Regions from separate parts of the Homo sapiens genome. Here region 2 is linked to region 1. The links are contacts of gene promoters, found by promoter capture Hi-C in blood cells and fetal thymus (Javierre and others, 2016). All regions are on one chromosome and are shown on one strand. The core of a region is centred on a gene start or on the middle of the fragment in contact, and the rest is flanking DNA. Distances in the headings are between cores, read along the strand shown.

The links. Contacts are between HindIII fragments. The CHiCAGO score rates a contact against its expected background, and 5 or more counts as called.
Region 2: a fragment that was not itself captured here is called in contact with the fragment with the promoter of HSD17B3-AS1 in region 1 in 2 of 17 cell types (M0 macrophages and M2 macrophages); the score reaches 6.3 in M0 macrophages.

Annotation. Positions count from the first base shown.
Region 1 is chr9:96,245,166-96,248,331 of GRCh38, reverse strand. HSD17B3-AS1 (HSD17B3 antisense RNA 1) reads right to left here and starts at 1,869. Exons shown (of 3, transcript NR_146524.1): 1 at 1,723-1,869; 2 at 997-1,109. It overlaps HSD17B3 (hydroxysteroid 17-beta dehydrogenase 3), which reads left to right. Exons shown (of 11, transcript NM_000197.2): 7 at 1,742-1,776; 8 at 2,906-2,987. It overlaps SLC35D2-HSD17B3 (SLC35D2-HSD17B3 readthrough), which reads left to right. Exons shown (of 26, transcript NR_182427.1): 22 at 1,742-1,776; 23 at 2,906-2,987. The HindIII fragment of the contact is 9,340 bases long and covers 1-3,166 here.
Region 2 is chr9:95,729,772-95,732,867 of GRCh38, reverse strand. No RefSeq gene overlaps it. Among named protein-coding and RNA genes, the nearest start is that of ERCC6L2, 140 kb to the left of the region's middle. The HindIII fragment of the contact is 2,090 bases long and covers 310-2,399 here.

The DNA of each region.
Region 1 (3,166 bases), core at 620-3,119:
GCGGACAATAACTATTTGGTTGTTTTTCTATAAGCATGCTGGTATTTTATGGTTTCTTGCTCAGTTGCTATTGGGTACACACATCTTTTTGTGCTTAGCAATTGATGGCTTTTTGGAGCCCCCAGCTGATGTAATTATGAGTTTTATATGTCTAACTGTCATCTGCAGCCTTACCACTAAAGTCTTTCACGTTATTTTACAACTGACCTTTTAGTCTTGGGCTGTTTGATCATAGGTATTTCCCAAATGCACTTGACAACCCTCTGACTCCTTTAGCAGAGAAATGCTTTGATTTGTTTAAAAAAATTATATATTGATAAACACTAAGTTCCCTAAGTATGAAATAAAATAAATTGAAGTTTAGCTTCTAAGTATACCACGCCCCAGTGAACCATGCTGGTTAGAAGCATGACTAGTGAAGCTGCACTATTTTAAAGAAGCCGTCTGGAGATAGTCGAGTTCTCTTTCGGGGCAGGGATGGGAGAATATGCATTTGAGGGCAAAGGGAAGGTGGAATAAGAAACTGAACATTGGAAGCCTTGAGGCGGGGACCCACGAGATTCAGTGTTGTCTCTCTCATTGGGATCATTCAGCCAACAGGGCTAGTGAGTTCATTCGGGAGGCTTCGAGGCAATGTGGGTGCTGGCTGACAAGGCTCATATAATATCCCTATGAAGTCATTCACGGAAAGCGGTCTGACACTATCTCGCCCCTCATCCTCCCTCTTCTTCCCCAAAATCCAGTGTTGCAGAGGCAGCCCAGTGGTTCTAGAGAGCCCCACCCCCTCCACTGCCCTGGCCCCCTGGCCCCCCAGCAGCGAAGACATTCCCTGGAGGCTCTGAGACAGGCTGGGGCCTGGCCTGGGAGTGGGCACCTCTGAGGAGCTGCTGCAGGGCCCCTGGACAGCATGGAGAAATGGGCAGCCTGTGTCTTCCGGTCCCCAGGTGCCTTGATGTCTCCACCCCTCTCCTTTCACTTGGGTCCCTTGTCTCAAACCTGCTGCAGTCAGGATCTGCTCCAGGCCTGCCAGGCCTGATTGCGGTCAATTCTACTTCAGAGAACATTTCAGTCCATGGGGTTGCCTCTTCCTTCATTTGTAAAATGTGTACCTTGTAATTTTGAAACAAAAAGTTCTTTTAGGCTCCTGAAATGGCAGAGAAGACCTTTTCAGGGGTCTCTAGGCTGGGAGGGGGAAGGGGCCTCTCAAGGCTCTTGTAATTCCAATACACAGGAGTGGCCATGCACTGTGTCCACGGAGCTATTTCATAGCCTAGCTGCAGGCTGCGTAAGCGGTTGCTGTTGAATCAAAGAGGTGTCCTTCTCTCTACAGAGTCTTGTTAGGTTTCCCCATAGTTCCCCAATTCCAACTCATGGCCAGTCCACTTTTGCCTGTCCCACAGAATGAAGAGTATCATGGGAACCTCAGTGTTGGTCCCACAGCTGTAAGCCAATTCCCCCAATTTTTCACTGCCCTCATTTTCCAGGAAGACATTAGCTTTAGGGGGAAGAAATCAGAGGCCCCAGAGCAGCCTGTCATTTGTCTAGGTTGGCTCCTGTGGGTTCCAGGCAGACTCTAATGTGGCCAGAGTGACCTCCAATGAGTGCCAGCAATTTTCAAGGCCGTCTGAGAAGATGAGGCTCTTTCCCAGCTTCCTCCCGCGCTCCCTTCCCTGTTTCCATCCCGCCCCCTTGCACTGCTACTTAGTTCCTTGTCGGGCTTACCTTTGGCCTTCTCTTGTAGATGACACAGCTAATTCTGAAACATATGGAATCAAGGTAAGGCCTTCTTCAAAAAAGTGTGGAGCAACATGGCCTCCCTGCCCTGGCGGTCAGCTAACTCAGGGACTGGGGACACAGAGTCCATCTGGCTGTGCTTTAACAAACGATAACAGCTATGATGAAAGCACACGGTGATTATGGGAAAAAAAACATAACGTTCTGGGCCAGGCCAGCTCTGCAGACAGACAAGCTCATGTGAAGGTCAAACGTAACACACATTGGAGGGAGGAAGAGAACGGCAGTTTCAGCACACACTGGATTAAAGAAAAATTAACTAATGTTGAGTGTAAAAGAAAACTTCAGAAGTTGGCCCGAGATCAAGACCATCTCTTTGTTAGGAATTTCAGCTTTTGTCAGAGAGAATACTCCAATTTATTGTGAAAATCACTGCCCTGTCAGCTCCTCCACTTATTCCATATTTATGTCACCCTATTCCAATGCCCATTTGGGAGTTGGTTTTTCTCAGGTGTGTTCATTAAAAGCAAATGCTTGATAGCTTATCTTCCCTAGAGGAAGAAGGGGCTTGGCCTTGGATTCTAATTTGCAGTTTCTTGTCCCCTGCCCCTCCATTGTATCCGTCTAATTGGGAAGGATTAAGAATATTAAATTTCAAAAGGACAAGTAAGGCTCCTGGAGACTTGCATAGGGTATCTGTGTGAGCAGGTCCTGTACTGTGAAATTCTATCCAAGACAATATTCCACCATGTGACATCTGTCCAGCTGTGGGTCCTGAGTCCAAAGGGACCGGCAGCTCATGTGGTCACATTTAAGGGAGAAGGATTCTCTCCCCTTAAATCCTGAGCTGAGCTGGTTATCAGTATTTTGGTGGAGAGACCTCAGTTGTAGCACAGCCTGTTTCCAAGAGCAAGCCCCTCACATTATATGATGTCACATGACTGCCAGGTGGCATCACTGTGCGGCGGAAATCCAGACATCTCTGTGTGGCGCCCTCCAGGGGAAGGTAGGGGAAGTTCACTTACCATTCCTAGAAGCAGAGCCCCTAGCACTTGCGGAAGCCTAGAAAGGGTCGAGTCCGGCAGTGTTCACACGGGACCCTTTGTTTTCTTTGTACTCAAGGTCAGGTAGGGCAACAAAGCCATGGGAACTTTGCTTCTTTGCCTTTCAGGCAGAAAGGTCTCATCCTGAACATTTCTTCTGGGATAGCCCTGTTTCCTTGGCCTCTCTACTCCATGTACTCAGCTTCCAAGGTGAGTGATGTCATGACTTCCAAGTCTCTTCCTTCTTCCTCTTATTTCTCCCAGTTGGCAATTTCCTTTGATCATCTGGCAAGTTGATGGAAAGGTTTACCTGGAGATGCTCTCTTATGTGCAGGGCTGAGCTACTCACTGGGAAGTCCAAGAGAAAATTAGAATAAAGCACCTGCTCT
Region 2 (3,096 bases), core at 105-2,604, 510 kb after region 1:
GAAGCCCAGTGGTTCACTCTAAATTTTAAACTGATTTTGGAATAAGTCAGCTTCACCTGAGCCCAAAGATAACATACCACCTAAAATAGGTGCAGATTTGAGGAATAAGTCTCCTCCTTTCACTAGAACAATTCTCATTCCTTTCATTCTCTTGTTTCCAGTTTTTTCCTGGTTGCTCCTAGCCAGTAGAAGTGGCTTATCAACAGACCTCTACTTCTGTTGAACTTCATTACGTAGCAAATAGAGAAAAACCTGCTCTGAGAAACCCATCTTCTCATTCTGTGACTCTCTGATCCTAAACAAGAAGCTTCATTAGCAGCTGGAAGCCCTTGTCTCCTATGGATTAGAGAGACTCCCATGGCTAATAACTAACATGCATGGGATTTCTTGGCTGACAGTGCTCAGTGTTAACCATTTTACCTGGAGCACACTCTTTTCCCTCACCACTCCCCACACTCAGTCCTTTACCAGATGATTTACTAAATCAAATTCACAACTTGTAACATGACTCCTAAAGTTCCTGATAATCTGGAGCTGCCCCTGAGTGCGCCCCCCAACAACCCTGGACTACACCACCACATTCCCCCTAGACTCATGGGATTCCCATGTGCTGTGCCCTCTGCCAGGAATGCTCTTCCTCCTGTTTCTATACCTGGATAAAACCCACTCATGAATCAAGTATCAGCTGAGAGTCCCCTTTTTAAGGGTAGCATTTCTTAAACACTCCTTGCCCCTGCAAACATAGCTTTTTATCCACTTCAGTAGTTCTTTATCTCTTTCATAGCACTTCTCATGACTCATCATTATATTTTTGTGTCATTATTAGATAAATAACAGTCTCCCTCTGTGGCTGTCTCCCAATACCCACTATCCTCTTCTTTAATGAAAGAATCCCAACTTTTATCTGGGCACATTGTTACCCACCTAAAAAGTCCACATTCTGGCCGGGCGCGGTGGCTCAAGCCTGTAATCCCAGCAGTTTGGGAGGCTGAGAGGGGCAGATGACGAGGTCAAGAGATCGAGACCATCCTGGCCAACATGGTAAAACCCTGTCTCTACTAAAAATGCAAAAATTAGCTGGGCGGGGTGGCATGTGCCTGTAGTCCCAGCTACTCGGGAGGCTGAGGCCGAAGAATCGCTTGAATCTGGGAGGCAGAGGTTGCAGTAAGCCAAGATCACGTCACTGCACTCCAGCCTGGTGACAGAGCGAGACTCTGTCTCAAAAAAAAAAAAAAAAAAAAAAGTCCACATCCATATTCCTCACCGTCTCTTATGGCTAGATGTGACCAGGAAATGAAATGCTGGTCAATAACATGTGTCCTTCCTTGTCATTTTTTCTGCTGACTGGAATGGAGATAATGAGGAGGGCTGCAGCTTGGGTAGCCATGTTGGATCATGAGGTGGAAGTCATAGGCTTAGAAGGTAGCAATGAAAAGAAAGGAGCCTGGGTTCCTGGGGATACCAAAGAGCTTCCACACCAGGCTTGGAGTGTTACATTTTAGTCTCCTCTTCATGTGAGAGAAATAAACTTTCATCTTGTTTAAGCTACTTCTGTTGTCATTAACCTATCTTAAATGAATAGTTTCAGAAGCGATGACTGCACCACCATTTTGCAGGAGAGACAAATAGCTGAGCACATCCTACGTCTTCTCCAGTGTGAGCCGGGGAGGAGACAGGCGCACGGGCAAGGTTCTAGGTCATCAGTTTTTGTTCTTCCTCATGCCATGGATTTGGGATCTATACAACATCTTTTTAGTCTCACAAGAAATCTTTTGGCAAAGATTTCTTTTCTCTCCTTGAATTTTTTTTTTTTTTTTTTTTTTTTTTTTTTTTTTTTGAGATAGAGTCTCACTCTGTAGCCCACGCTGGAGTGCAGAGGTGCAATCTTGGCTCATTGCAACCTCCGACTCCCCAGTTAAAGCGGTTTTCCTGCCTCAGCTTCCCGAGTAGCTGAGATTACAGGTGTGCCACCACGCCCAGCTAATTTTTGTGTTTTTAGTAGAGACGGGGTTTCACCATGTTGGCCAGGCTGGTCTCAATCTCCTGACCTCGTGCTCCACCCGCCTCAGCCTCCCAAAGGGCTGGGATTACAGGCTGAGCCACTGCCGGCGACCTTTGCTTCTTAGCACAGCCTGCCTGGCAATGAGGGCACCAAAATCATAGAATCAATTTTTCAGAGTTCATGCGTTAAAATTCTTAGGTGATATTACATTTGAAGATGCTGTAAATATGGCTTCATTACTTTAACTTGCAAAGAGAACAAAGAGAACTTGCAAAAAAAATACCTCAGGCGAATGTGCCTTGCAGAGCATGTGCCTTAAAAACGTCCTAGACAAAGGTGTGTAAACAGTAACTGGCCTTATCCAATGCAGGATTCACAGCGGCTAGGAAATGAAGCTTTAAGGTCAATCGAAAGGAAACAGGAGATAGTGCCTTTACAGGTCATCACCTACAAGAAGAAACCCATAGAATACTACTTTTTTTTTTTTTTTTTAGAAAAAAATAATTTATGACACCAATAAAAATAGGACTTGTGTTTTAGAAAATTACATCATGGGTTGGTAAACTGTGATCTCAGTTTTGTAAATAAAGCTTTATTGAAGCACAGCCACACCCATAACCTTCCTGATTCTGTGTGTCTGGCTGCTTTGGGACTTGAACTCCAGCAGTTGCAACAGAGACCCTATTGAGTCCGCAGTTTCTTTCTTCCTGCTGTAGAGTTCGTAGTCTCACCAACTCCAAGAATGAAGCTGCAGACCTTCGCAGTGAGTGTTACATCTCTTAAAGATGGCACAGACCCAAAAAGTGAGCAGCAAGATTTTTTGTGAGGACTGAAAGAACAAACCTTCTACAAACGTTCCCACTACTGCAGCACGTTCCTGTTACTGGCTGGGGTGGCCAGCTTTCATTCCTTTATTTGGCCCTGCCCACATCCTGCTGATTGGCCCATTTTACAGAGTGCTGATTGGTCCATTTTGCAGAGTGCTGATTGGTCCATTTTACATAACACTGATTGGTCCATTTTACAGAGTGCTGATTGGTGCATTACAATCCTCCAGCTTGACACAGAGTGCTGATTGGTGCATTTACAATCCT